5 separate regions of the Homo sapiens genome follow, and all the other regions are linked to region 3. Evidence: promoter capture Hi-C in 16 types of primary human blood cells and fetal thymus (Javierre and others, 2016). All regions are on one chromosome and are shown on one strand. Each heading gives the region's core, a stretch centred on a gene start or on the middle of the fragment in contact. The rest is flanking DNA. Distances are from core to core; before and after follow the strand shown. Region 1 overlaps NUDCD3 (NudC domain containing 3). Region 2 has its middle 40 kb from the start of CAMK2B. Region 3 holds the start of AEBP1 (AE binding protein 1). Region 4 overlaps NUDCD3 (NudC domain containing 3). Region 5 overlaps NUDCD3 (NudC domain containing 3).

Region 1 (2,700 bases), core at 138-2,637, 300 kb before region 3:
CCCTTGATGATTTGGTTCATTCCCCTGGGTAGGCAGTGTGAGAAGCTTCCCCAAATTTGGAAATTATTATGTTATATAGAGCTGGGTGGGAGAATTATATTTGTTAAGTGAGCTTGTTCTTGTGAAGGCAGGCTGAGGAGCCTTGGGCCCTCTGTGTCGTGTTTCCATTGCACACAAGTTCATGGTTAGACATGATTTGGCCCAACATGTGTCTGGATCATTTCAGGAGTGAGTGGATCTGTTGTTCCATTTGCTCACGTTCCTCATGGTGTTAGAAGGTAGGGAGTGAAGCTCAGTTGCCTATTGTTCAATAGGACTAGCCAAGTAAATACCCTTTTCCGTGGTAAATTCCCCTATGAAAGGTCATGCAAGTGGAACTGCGATCTCATGAGAGGATGCTTCCTTGGAGTCTGCATGTGAACCTGGCAGAGCCGCCTGTGGTTAGCAGAATATCTTCGCTGTGTCCCCCAGTGGGCAGCCTTCTGCCACCTTCTCCCCTCACTGCATGGCTCAGGAACTATCTTTCATTTAGTAACTATCTGATGGGCTGGATGTGGTGGCTCACATGTGTCATCCCAGCACTTTGGGAGGCTGAGGCAGTAGGATCACTTGGGGCCAAGAGTTCGAGACCAGCCTGGGCAACAGCAAGACCCCTGTCTCTACAAAAAATAAAAATAAAATTAGCCAGGCATGGTGGCACGTACCTGTAGTCCCAGTTACTCGGGAGGCTGAGGTGGAGGGATTGCTTCAGCCCAGGAGTTTGATGCAGCAGTGAGCTGGGATCACGCCACTGCACTCCAGCCTGGGCAATGCAGTGAGGCCGTGTCTCTTAAAGAAAAAGAAGAAAAACTGACAGCGGTGACTCCTGCACATCATTTCTCCCATTTCCATTTTTTATTTACGAATATTTAAACTACAGTTAGGTTATGGTATTGTATTTCATTGGAAATACTAAACTCCAGTTTGGAAAATCTATCAGTTTGGGTTGTCTTTTTTTCCAATCATTTTATAAGCGTTTAATGAGCCATCTACCAAATGACATGGAGAGTAGCTTCCAAATTATTTTTATTCCACATACCTATTAGAAAAAAGTTTTAAGTACTTGATCCCAGTGTCTTCTTAATGCATACATTATACAGATACAAAATGTAAATGGAAGTTCTGTTTTATTTCCTCTTCTAATTACTGACCTGTGAACCTCCTGGGGTATGCATACCCTGCTTTGGAGACTGCTGGCTGGAATACATGATATGAAGTAAAAGGAACCCTACTCCCACAGCTGCCAGTCCAGTTCTGGAGACGGACAAGTGGTGGGGCAGGGATAGGTGTTCCTAGGGCGGTGGGGAAGGCCATGGGGCCAGTCTCTGCCTAGGACAGGCTCAGAGGGAGGAGGGTGAGCTGAGGCTTTTAGAGGCTTGGTTTTGTAAAGAACCAAGACAAAATGCAAAACCATGTGCGAGTGTTGGTGGTATATTGGTGAGCATAGCTGCCTTCCAAAACCAAAGGAGTTGGTCTCATACTCTTGGATGAAGACCAGGCTATAGTCAACCAGGCAGTGCAGTGGCTCATGGAAGGAAGAGGTGGTGCTTGTCTCTTGTACAGCAGTCCTGGGGTGAGCAATTCAGGGTGTGCAGCCCCCTCAGCTTTCTTGGTTGCTGTGGTCCAGGGCTGGGCTCCTGCGTCTCCCAGGTAGCCACAAGGGGAGGCAAGGAAGAAATACCACTTGTCTCCTCTGCTCACTTTTTGCTGTGACAATTGGTCTCCGTTAACTGGAGAAGGGAGAAGAAGATTGGGTCACAGCAGCTTCCACCACAGCATTTTACGTTACCAGTTATGCTGAGAAAGATTTTCTGGTGGATTTACTAAATGAGCTGACATCTTCAGGTTGCTCTAGGTATAAATTAGGCTGGTATGGTTTTCTTCACTGAGATGCCTGGTGAGCCTGATGACAGCGCTGTAGTGTGCAGTCAGGTACCTTGGAAACCATCACCACTCCCACCGTACAGCACACCAGTGGTCACCCTGATAGGAGAGATGATTTTCTTCTGCTGTGTCCCCAGGTCTCAGTGGCCCTTAGCAGCAGCTCCATTCGTGTGGCCATGCTGGAGGAAAATGGGGAGCGCGTCCTCATGGAAGGGAAGCTCACCCACAAGATCAACACTGAGAGTTCTCTCTGGAGTCTCGAGCCCGGGAAGTGCGTTTTGGTAAGTTTGGGCACCTGTGTGTAGGGCTCCCAGGTGGACTTCAAACCTGCAGTGATGCCCCTTTTGACCAACAAGCCTATTTACACTTAAGCAGTGAGGTTGTTAATTTCAGCTGCTGGGGCAGATGGGTTTTCCTGAGCATTTTCCATACTGCTCAGAGATCGTCTCTGTGGGCACTTGAGCTTTGGCCCTTTGAGGTCTTGGTCATTCCCAAGAGCTCCACTGTTCTTACATCTAAGGCAAAAACAAGTAAATTGAAAATGAAAAGCTAGGTTGAATTTTTACAGATGCTACTCTGGAGGGTACAGAGTTAATAAATTCAGAGAATCAGGCTCATTGACCAACTGGCTGTCCTTAGCCAGCTGCTGGTTAGGCATAGCTAAGAGTTCAGGACAGTGAGATTAAGGTGTGACTCCAAATGAACAGCTCACATGTTACCAGTTAGCAGACTCGCTCACAAATTGGGCTGCACGCCTGGGCCAGATCTGTTGGTGGC
Region 2 (2,700 bases), core at 112-2,611, 260 kb before region 3:
AATTTCCTTGAGGTCCATTCAAGATGCTGTGTATATCATAGTTTCTTTTAATTTTTGAATAATATGCCATAGTACATGGATGAACCACAATTTGTTTAATGGCCTACCCATTGAAGGACATTTGAGTAGTTTCCAATTTTTGTCTATTACAAATAAAACTGCTGTGAATATTCATATATAGAGTTTTAAAATTGAACATAAAATTTCATTTCTTTAGGATAAATACCCAGGAGTGCAATTACTGGGTCATATGTTTAAGTATATGTTTAACTTTATAGAAAATTGTCAAACTTTTTCAGAGTGCCTCTGCCATTTTACATTCCAACCAGCAATATGTGAGCTCCAGTTTCTCTGCATCCTTGCTCACATTTGGTATTGTGATAGGCAGAAAAATGGCTCCCACAAAAGTCCACATCCTAATCCTCCAGACCTATGAAATAAGTTATGCAAGGGAGAATTTTGGTTGCAGATGGAATTAAGAGTGCTAATTAGTTGACCTTAAGAAAATATTATTCTGGATTATCTAGGTAGACCCAATATAATCACAATAATCCTTTAAATGTGGAAGAAGGAGGCAAAAGAGTGATGTGAAGTGAAAAAGACTCAACCAAGCAGCCATTGCTGGCTTTGAAGGATGATAGCCACAAGCCTCATTAAACTCATTTTGGACTTCTGACCTCCAGAACTGTAAGATAATACATCTGTGGTGTTTTAAGCCACGAAATTTGTGGTGATTTACTACAGTAACACTATGAAACTATTATAGGTACTGTCAGTATTTTTTATTTTGACTGTTCTAACAGGTGTGCGGTGATATCTTATTGTGTGATTTAATTTGCATTTTACCAATGGCTAACGATGCTGAGCATCTTGTCATGTGCTTTTTGCCATATGTATATTTTCCTTGATGAAATGTTGTGTCAAGTCTTTTGGCCATTAAATATCAAGTTTTGAGCATTCTTTATATATTTTAGATAAAAGTCCTTTGCTGGATATGTGATTTACAAATATTTTCTCCTGGTCTATAATTAGTTTGTTCATCCTTTTAACATAGTCTTTTCAGAGCAATAGCTTTTAATGTTGGTGAGGTCCAGTATATCAAATTTTCTTTTTATTCATCAAGCTTTGGTGTCAAGTCTAAAAATACCTTTGATTAGTCCTAGATCTCACAGTTTTCCTCCTATTTTTCTAGAAGTTTTATAGCTTATGTTTTACATTAAGTCTATGATCCATTTTGAGTTAATTTTTTGTATAAGGTGTGAGGTTTATTTATTTATTTATTTATTTGGCTTATGAATGTCCAGTTGTTCCAGGAGCATTTGTTGAAAAGGCTGTCATTTCTCCTCTAAACCACTTTTGCTCCTTCATCAAATATTATTTTATTATTTATTTAATTATTAATCAAATGTTTGTGTAGGTCTATTTCTGGGATCTCTGTTCTATTTCATTAATCTATGTGTCTGCTCCTCTACCAATACCACACTGTCTTTATTACCGTCGCTATATGGTAAGCCCTGACATCATGAATTTTCTTCTTTTTCATACGTTTTGGCTATTCTAGTGTCTTTCCCTTTCCATATAAATTTTAAAATAAGCTTGTCTATGTCTACAAAAAAATCTTGCTGAGATTTGGGTAAGAATTGCATTAAACCAGCTAGGCATGGTGGCTCACGGCTGTAATCACAGCACTTTGGAAGGCTGAGGCAGGAGGATTGTTTGTGGCCAGGAGTCTGAGACCATCCTGGGCAACATGGTAAAACCTTGTCTCTACAAAAAAATACAAAAAATTAGCCGGGCATAGTGGCAAGAGCCTGTAGTCCCAGCTACTCAGGAGGCTGAGGTGGGAGGATTACTTGAGCCCAGAAGGTCGAGGTCGCAGTGAGCCATGGTCGTGCCACTGCACTCCAGCCTGGGGGTGACAGAGCAAGACCCTATCTCAAAAAAAAAAAAAAAAAAAAAAAGAATTGCATTAAACCTGTAGATCAATTAGGAAGAATTTTCATCTGTACTATATTGAGTCTTCCAATCTACAACCATGGTGTATTAGATCTTTTTTGATTTGGTTCATCAGCATTCTATAATATAATTTTATTACATAGATTCAGTACAGGTTTTGTTAGATTTATACCTAAGTATTTCATGTTCTTTGGGTCAATTGTATATGTTTATATGTTTTAAATATATATTTCCTCTTGTTCATTGTCACTTTATATAAGTGAAATAGACTTGTGTGTTGATTTTGTATCCTGTGACCTTACTAAACTCATTAGCTCTAGTAATTTTTTTTTTTTAGGTTCCTCAGGATTTTATTTTCTATGTAGTTAATCATGTCACCTGCAAATAGCACAGTTTTATGTTTTCCTTTCTACTCTTGACACTGTTTATATATTTTTATTTTCTGATTGCAGTGGCTAGAACTTCCATTACTATGTTGAAAAAGAGTGGTCAGAGCAGATTCCCTTCACTTGTTCCAGAACTTAGAGGGAAAGCACTCAGTCTGTCCCCATTAGGTATAATGCTTATAGTAGGTTTTTGATAGATGCTCTTTGTGACACTGAGGAAATTAATCTCTCTTCCTAGTGTGCTGAGAGTTGTTTTTTTGTTTATTTGTTTTTGTTTTGTTTTGTTTTGAGATGGAGTCTCGTTCTGTCGCCAGGCTGGAGTGCAGTGGCGCGATCTCGGCTCACTGCAGCCTCCACC
Region 3 (2,768 bases), core at 120-2,619:
CCCAGAGCCAGGAGAGCAAGCCTGGAAGGAGAGCCAGAGGCAGGAGGGGCACAGGCAGCCCAGGGTGTGGGAAGCAGCCAGGAAAGATCTAGAGCTGGGGTGGCAGGGGAGGGGCTGCTGACATCAGGAATGTTGGATGGTGCCTTGGAATCTCCTGGGAGACAGGGATCACAAGACCCTCTGCCACCTTCCAGAGGGCCACGATGAAAACAGCTAAGATTTACTGACAACTGATTATGCAAGAGGCCGTGGGTTAAATGCTTCAGTGATGCATCACCTCATCTAATTTCCTGTACTAATGTAGGACCACCCATTGCTCACCACCACCTGAAGCCCTGTGCTCACCACCACCTGAAACTCTCTCACCTACGTGAGACCTCCTGGAGTAGGAGGGCAAAGGCAGGAGGGAGGGACGACGTGAAGCTGTGCCACCAACAGGGAGAGTGGTCCCATTAGTATGGCAGGGGGTGACACAGCACAGTCCCCTGTGGCTCAAGCCTAGTACCTGTCGCGTACTGGAGGAATGGGGATAAGCGACCCGTACAACCACAGCACCAACCCTAGAGCCACCGGCCCCCAAAAGCGGCCCTGCCGCCCGGGTGCTGGATGTGCCTCCACGCCAGCGCTGACCTCGGCCTAGCACAGGGTCCCTCCAGGCATCTGGGCTCGCGTGCGCATTAGTAAGCCAGCCATTCCTCCCCTAGCAGACTGGGGAGTGGCCAGACCCTACCGAATCCCCCTGTTCCCACCTGAGATGCCAGCCCCCCACACCCCCGCCCTGCCCTGGGCTCTTACCTTCTGCGGCCGTCCCTGGCCGCTTCCCTGGCTTGCCCCCCGCCTGGGCTTTTCGGACCCGCGGGGTGGGCTCGGGAGGCGGCGGGGCCTCCACGTCGTCCTCCCGGGGCTCAGGTTCTAGCTCTGACAGGAAGCCCTCGAGGAACTCCTCGATCTCGTCGTCGGTCAGCACCGTCTGCGGGCGCCCTCCAGGGCACAGGGCCAGCAACGCCAGGAGGCAGCTGAGCAGGGGCGCCCCGCGCACGGCCGCCATGGCCGCGGCACGCGCGGGGGGCTCCGGGGAGGGCGCGGGGGGTCAGGGGCTCTGGGTCTCTGGGAAAGGGCGGAGAGGGGATCGAGACGGGTGAGGGAATCCAGGAAGGGGCGGGAGAGAGGATGGGGTGAGCGAGGGAATCCGGGAAAGGGAGGGAGAGTGGATTAGGGTGGGCGAGGGGACCCGGGAAGGGGTGCTGGGGGGCTCCGAAGCCAGAGGGGCTCAGGGGTGGTCGGGGCGCTCCGAGGTCCTGGCGGCTAATAGGCGCTCCGGCCCCGCGTGGCGCACTCCCGCGCGGATAGCCGTCTCCAAAGCGCTGGCGGGGCCCGGGGCGGGGGCGCCGGGGCTTCCGGAGCCGGCTCCCCACCCCCGGGGAGGAGGAGGAGGAAGAGAAGGAGGAGCCGAGAGTGGACGGAGGGGCTGCGGGGGGGCGGGGGGCGGGGGGCGGGGGGCTAGGGGCGGGGCAGGCGGGCGGGCGCTGGCGGCGAGCGTCCCAAGCCCGGAGACTTGCGCCTAGGACAGAGGGGCAGGGGGCGGGGCGACTGGGAAGACAGAGGGCCTGAGGGAAGGAAAGGTGGTGGGGAGGGCCTGGGGTGCGGGTCTGAGGGGGCCGACATCCCTCCTCCTTCTGCCCTAGGCACCCCCCTTAAGGCGGGACCCCGAGTCCACCGGGGCTCTGAGCCCTCCGCGGGTGACCAGGAACCCTGGACGGAAAGCCGTGGTGTCAGGCCTCTGAGACCTCTCTCAATTCGGAGGGCCACAGAAAGGCCACCCCATCCTTCCCAGGCTCTGGAGCCTCTGCCCATGGGCCCTGCTGCATCCCAGCGTCAATTCATTCAGTCATCCTACCAACCTCTTCAGGTCGGTGTGGGGCCGGGCCCCGTGCTGGGCCCCAGGGAGGGACAGCACAGTGGGAACTCACTTTCCAGCCAGGAGGCAGGTGCAAAACTGCCCTCAGAGTGGCCAGCTGCCCCGCTGGGGGTAGGAGTCCCATGTAAGGGCATGCCATCCCTCCCCTCCGGGTCCCAACGTGGACAAATAGCCATTTATCACCTTCTTCTTACCAGAACTCATTTTTTAAAAAGTGTCTACCATACCTCCAGCTGCCACATGGACCCAGAGGGCCCAGAGGACCCAGAAGGCAGGTGGATTGAGTGTCAACTGATCCCAGGATCCATCAGGGATGTGCACCTTGGTGCCTGGTGTTTGCCATAAGGCTTCTCCAGGGCAAATGTTGGCTGCCCTACAACGGCCATCAACAGGCAGAGTGGTCCCATTAGTATGGCAGGGCGTGACACAGCACAGTCCCCCGTGACTCAAGCCTAGTCCCTGTCTCATACTGGAGGAATGGGGAGCTAAGGACAGAGCTCCGAGGACATTCCCCCTTAAAGGAATGAGGACACAAGAGAAAGCTCACAGGTAGTCCATGGGCCAAGTGCAGAGGCAGACAGCCCTAAGCCACGATTGTCTGCGGGGTTTGGCCCCAGTGAAGTAGTCAGGTAGGGAAGCCTAGGAGCCCCTGGGATGATTGACAGGGCAGAGTTTGGACCTGGGGTCAAAAGGAAAGAGGAAAAGTGGGTCAGGAAGCACCTGGGTCCCCAGAGCAGCCCCGAGTGAGTTGGAGCAGGCAGCAGCCGGGGAGGCCACAGTGGAGGCTGCTGGGCCTGGGATACATGCCACCCCCTGGGAGCAGGACCACAAGGAGGCCTTGCCTCCTCTC
Region 4 (2,700 bases), core at 152-2,651, 280 kb before region 3:
TGGACTCTCAGGCGAAGCTGAAGTCATTGAAGTGTGTGAAGCTCTGTGCTTGCATGAGGGCAAGCAAGGAATGGCTGTGCCTGAGGCTGCTCTGGGAAACTCCTTGCCCCTTGACCTCTTTTGAGAGCATTCACGTGGTCTTCTTGCTCATCCCCTTATAAATGTGCTTTGCCTGCCTCAGCCTCATGGTCAGAGCAGTGGAGACTGGAGCCCTGTTTGCACGTTCTAGTTGTTCGGAGAAAGCCTAGGTTCTGGGCTCAGGTCCAGATGCAGCGGGGATTCTGTTCTCTGACTGTGGCGACCTTGCTTTGGTTCTTGTTGAAGTGAACCAAGCCCGGCCACCACGCATGGCATGCTGTGCTTGGCTCCCCATAAGACGTCCTCTTTGGGTGCACGGTGTCAAAGTGTGGGCAGGAGTGGAGAGCTGGTGCCCTCAGGAGGAGACCACAGCATGTCCATCAGCTCAGCAGAGCTCGACAGCCACAAGTCCTGAGAAGCTTTGACCTTGAAGGGCTTCTGGGAGAGGAGGAATTTCTGCATGGGGCGTGAAGGCACACTGTCCCACCACAACTGAACCAGAAGAGAGTGAAGACTCCCCTCTTCCCATCCTCTGTGCCAGGTGCCAGACTGTGCTCCTTGGAACTTATGGCCCAATCTTACCTGTTCTCCAGGGACTGGTCACTGCCTCAGGACCCCCAAGCCTATGCCCTGAGCCATGGCTGCTGACTGACTCCAGCCAAGGTGCAAAGACGAGATTATGAGACAGGTCCTCAGGCCTGTGTTCCAAGTACTCACAGGGGCTCTGGGTGCCCATCGCCGGGAGTATGGTTCAGCTGCCACCGGCACTGTCCATTTGCCTGTCTGTCAAGCTCAGAGCATGGATAAGCCACACAGCAGGGCAGTGCACCCTGGCACCATGCACGGCCAGCAAGAATCAAGGCCCGCAGATGCTAAGAGGGCCTATTGTCAGGGGAAGGTCCCCGCTCCTGCACACTCTCTATGGATACTTGGGTTGTGGGGGCTCTCTTGGAGAGTAAGTTTGTGGTTTGTTTCTGGTTTACAGTGGTGGCTGACACCCCTTGTAAGAAAGCATTCCTGGGAAGTCTTCTGTGGGTCCAAACATGTTGCTCCGATCATCACAGGAGAGCAAAAGGCCCTAGATACCCCCTTTGGAATGTGAGAGTCTTGTTGTCTGATATTTGCCACTGAGCTGGTGAAGCCCCTCTAAAGAGATCTCGACCCTGGGGAGCAGAATTCTTGTCATCTATGAGGGGTCCTGAGAAAGACTTGTCATTTTTTTTCCTGGAGTTCTTCCCATTGAGGTCCTAGGATTTGCACACCACTGTCCCACAAGAGCTTTCCTGCCTAATGAAAGGAGGTCTTGTGGTGTGTGTCTCCTCTCTTCTCTATAGTTCCCGAGTTGGCCCCCATTGCAGCCCCCACCCTGTGGGTAGTCTTCCAGAAGTGATGCAGTGGTGTGAGATGCCCTACACCTTGTTATTTGGGAGACTTTGAGAGTCATTCACTTCCATGGTGACTAGTGTTTGTTTTGCCTGATTTTATATTCTGTGTTGCATTTCTCCCCACTCCCTGCCCTGCTTTAATAAACAGCAAACCAATATCTAGGAAGAATGACTGAGGGATAGTATTGGGTATTGGCCCCATGGCAGGAACAGCCACTTGCATCTGGTCCCGGTGCCACACTGCGGTGCTTGGTGTGGTTGTGGAGCCTGTCCCTGCGCGCCTTGCTCCCGTTGAGCCACGCTGTCTGGTGGGTGATTCTCTGCCCTGAGCCACCACCCTGGACTGGCCCAGTCTCCAGAGCTGGCACACCCTGCCTGTTTTCTCTTTTTAGACACAACAGCCGCAGTTTGGCCAGCCACTAAGTCCCACCAGCTGAGGTCCGAGGAAAGCGGGGTGACTCATTTCCCTTGTCCAGGGCCCGAGGAGAGTGAGGTGTCCAGCCTGCAAAGCTATTCCAGCTCCTTGGTGTTGGTTTGCAATAAATTGGTATTTAAGCAGTTCTGGGTCTGCGTGTGACATTTGCTGCTGAGACAGTTCTGTCTGTGCATGGTCATTATTGTTGCATTCTAGCCTTGAGGTCCCAGGCCAACGTACACAGCAAACACCAGCATGGGGAATTCTTAGGGGTTGTTTCCCATCTGGTCTGAATGCACTGGGCAAGATCTCAATACAGCTTTAGAAATCCTGTAAGATTTTGACCAGTGGGGAGAAAAAGAATGTAGCTATAGATCTTACATCCTTTCAAACAGGTTCTGGAATTCTGTAGTTACTGGAAAGCTTAGGGTGAGTGCAGAGTTGGGAATGATTCCACTGAAGGGCCACCTTTGCCCACCAGGCTCCAAGGCCCTCCTTGGTCTCCAGGTGCATACCTGCTGTTAACTTTGCTGAGCCCTCGCAATGGGCTTCCTCCAGGACATAACGCCGTGTCTGACACAGAAGTCTCCCAGGTGGCTGGCCACCTGCTTCTTCCTCAGTCAGATCTTTGACTCTCCTTCTCTGTGCCCACCCCATCTCCAGCCTCCTCTGACCCTGCTCACCCCTGGGGACAGGACCTAGGGGTGTGAGAAGTACTTGGCTGAATAAAGACTGTTTCAAAGGCAATCCTTAGAATTGCCTAGCATACTCCCAGGGCCAGAAATAACCCGCCAGAAAGGAGAGGCGTATTTGCCCCTGAAG
Region 5 (2,700 bases), core at 49-2,548, 320 kb before region 3:
GTCTTAGGGGAAGATCTTCCCTCTCCTCTTCCAGCTTTAGGTGGTGGCCTGCGGTCCTTGACGTTTTTTGGCCTATAGGCACATCACCCCATTGTCTCCACATGGCCTTCACGTCATCTCTCCAAAGTCCCCCTTTTAAGGACATCAGTCATAGTGGATTAGGGCCCACCCTAATGACCTTGTTGTAACTGCATCACCTGTGTAAAGACCCTGTTTTTATTAAGGTCACATTCTGAGGTCCTGGGGATTAAGATTCCAACATAGCGTTTTAGGGGACCCAATTCAGTTCTTAACAGCCACTATTGCCCAGCCCAGAGGACTCAGGCCGTGGTGGAGGCCCAGCTTCATGCATAGACAGTGTGCAGGGCATACCCACAGTAGGTAAATATGTTCTTGTCTTAGAACTCTGGCCAGAGAAAGCCTGCCCTCTTGAACCACCCCTTCCCAATCCTTGTCTTGTATGTGCATCTATATAGATGTAGATACATGTAGTTTTGTGTTTTCCTGTGTGAACCAGATCATAGTGCACACATTGTTTACAAGCCCATGGGGCCGTCTCCCTGCCAGGTTTTGTCTGCTAATCTCTGAGCAGGCCCTGGAGAAGTTGACTGAGATGCACCTACTGTTGGAATGTTCTGTGTTCATAGCTGCTGCCTTCTCCATGACTAGGCTTTTGTCTGTAATTTAGATCTTCAGTTCACTATAATGGACTTGTGAGTCTAAACTTACATAATGTTTATATTATTAGCATTGTTACATTTTATGGAAAATATTATATTTTATTTTTAACATCAGCTTCTTCTTGGTAGGCCTATCTGTATTTAGTGCTGTGTTTATAACAGGCCTATACAATAAGATTTGCTTGATTGAGTTTTTTAGGCTGTCTCATTAAACATACTGCTTATGTCTTAACAATGATGCATACAATTTTAATGCAGTCCTTTTAGCTGTGATTTATTTACTATGAAAAAATAGAGGCTAGGGGTTGGATTAGGATTGAAGTTTAGCAGCTGCAGGATGAAGTGGTTTTGCCTTTTTTTTTTTTGAGCAGAGTTTTGCTCTTGTTGCCCAGGCTGGAGTGCAATGGTGTGATCTTGGCTCACTGCAACCTGCAACCTCCGCCTCCCAGGTTCAAGCGATTCTCCTGCCCAAGCCTCCCAAGTAGCTGGGATTACAGGCATGTGCTCCCATGCTCAGCTAATTTTTGTATTTTTAGTAGAGACAGGGTTTCACCATGTTAGCCAGGTTGGTTTCAAACTCCATACCTCAGGTGATTCACCCGCCCTTGGCCTCCCAAAGTGCTGGGATTACAGGTGTGAGTCACCACGCCTGGCCTCTTTTTTTTTTTTTTTTTTTTTTTTTTTAAAGATTGACCCTGCCAAGCAGTTTATAAGAAACCAAGGACTCATGAGCCTAAGGATTTTATTAATAAGAGCCCTCTGGTTAATTAACAGGCCTGGATCTCAGTACTGTGAAGGCTGGCAGTACCAGCTATGGTTTGACTGTGGTCACAGACACTTTTCCTAAACTGTAGGATGCTGCACTGGGGTTTCTTTTCTGTAGCTTTGCCCTTGTCCTGTGATTTCCATGGGTACCATGTAGGAGGGTCAGAAAGGAAATCACCTGAAAAGAAGAGGAGTTTGCAGATGCCAGAGCCAGTGAACTTGAGATGAAACTTGAGTTGGTCACGTCTCCAGGATGTAGGAGTGGCATGGGCTAGGCTGCCCATGGGGTCCTCTGCTCAGGCATGGCTGACTGGGATCACATTTTTTATTCTTTCTCAGGATTCAGGAGCAGTTCCAGAAAAATCCCGACAGTTACAATGGTGCTGTCCGAGAGAACTACACCTGGTCACAGGACTATACTGACCTGGAGGTCAGGGTGCCAGTACCCAAGCACGTGGTGAAGGGAAAGCAGGTAATGGCCTTGGCGGGTAGGGGTGGGCGGCTTCACCCAAGCCAGTCAAAGCTGTTGCAGGGAAGACCCACCAGCATCCTTGAGGGAGTGTTGAGATCGGCTTTAGGATGTGAGGTGTGTTCCTTCTCCTGCCCTCGGAATGAGCTGAGCACACCATCCTTGCTCCCCTTATTCTGTTTGTGAGGTTCTCCCAGCTCTTCTGCAGAAACCTCCCTTTGGGGATGGTGAACCCTGTTCACACTGCTTCCTGAGAGAGAAGCCCACACATCTGATGTCTTCACCTCTTTTATAAATACAGCCATAGACTCTCCTGGGGTTCCTATTGTAGATGGCCAGCTTCTCAGTTTTCAAGGGAATACTCAAACATTATTACCTTGGTGAATTCTCTTTTTTCCTAAAGATTAAATCTGCCTTCAGTTTCCCTAAGAAAAGTCCAGTCTACTAAACGCACAGTGATAGCTAACATACATTCACATAGCATCTGTCATGTGAGTTTCCTGGGCTTTGCCAGCCCAGGGTCTAATAAACTCAAATTAGACAAAATGACACAGTGGGTAGCACCTCCCCGTGTATGGTGATGAGCCATGCATCACAGAGATGAAAGGTTTATGATTTAATTCTCCACAACCTTTAATCACAGGAGAGAGCTCTAAGACTCTGCAGTTCTCTCAGGGCAACAACATGGCTGCACAGGAGGGATGGAGGGAGGGACAGGCCCACCTCATCCCAGCGTCCCCACTTGCTTCCCTTGCTATTTTTTTTTTTTTTTTTTTTTGAGACGGA

The links. The method cuts DNA at HindIII sites, captures the fragments that hold promoters and counts their contacts. A CHiCAGO score of 5 or more calls a contact.
Region 1: a fragment that was not itself captured here is called in contact with the fragment with the promoter of AEBP1 in region 3 in 2 of 17 cell types (M1 macrophages and M2 macrophages); the score reaches 7.4 in M1 macrophages.
Region 2: a fragment that was not itself captured here is called in contact with the fragment with the promoter of AEBP1 in region 3 in 1 of 17 cell types (M1 macrophages); the score reaches 7.1 in M1 macrophages.
Region 4: a contact is called between a fragment that was not itself captured here and the fragment with the promoter of AEBP1 in region 3, in 1 of 17 cell types (M1 macrophages). The highest score is 5.5, in M1 macrophages.
Region 5: a contact is called between a fragment that was not itself captured here and the fragment with the promoter of AEBP1 in region 3, in 1 of 17 cell types (M1 macrophages). The highest score is 6.4, in M1 macrophages.

Annotation. Positions count from the first base shown.
Region 1 is chr7:44,403,944-44,406,643 of GRCh38, reverse strand. It overlaps NUDCD3 (NudC domain containing 3), which reads left to right. Exons shown (of 6, transcript NM_015332.4): 4 at 2,061-2,204. Among named protein-coding and RNA genes, the nearest start is that of CAMK2B, 80 kb to the right of the region's middle. The HindIII fragment of the contact is 2,679 bases long and covers 48-2,700 here.
Region 2 is chr7:44,364,047-44,366,746 of GRCh38, reverse strand. No RefSeq gene overlaps it. Among named protein-coding and RNA genes, the nearest start is that of CAMK2B, 40 kb to the right of the region's middle. The HindIII fragment of the contact is 472 bases long and covers 1,126-1,597 here.
Region 3 is chr7:44,102,946-44,105,713 of GRCh38, reverse strand. It overlaps AEBP1 (AE binding protein 1), which reads right to left and starts at 1,369. Exons shown (of 21, transcript NM_001129.5): 1 at 796-1,369. The coding sequence starts at 1,048. The HindIII fragment of the contact is 6,426 bases long and covers 1-2,768 here.
Region 4 is chr7:44,382,912-44,385,611 of GRCh38, reverse strand. NUDCD3 (NudC domain containing 3) reads left to right here. Exons shown (of 6, transcript NM_015332.4): 6 at 1-2,700. Among named protein-coding and RNA genes, the nearest start is that of CAMK2B, 59 kb to the right of the region's middle. The HindIII fragment of the contact is 1,804 bases long and covers 500-2,303 here.
Region 5 is chr7:44,426,788-44,429,487 of GRCh38, reverse strand. NUDCD3 (NudC domain containing 3) reads left to right here. Exons shown (of 6, transcript NM_015332.4): 3 at 1,785-1,917. Among named protein-coding and RNA genes, the nearest start is that of NUDCD3, 63 kb to the left of the region's middle. The HindIII fragment of the contact is 3,476 bases long and covers 1-2,700 here.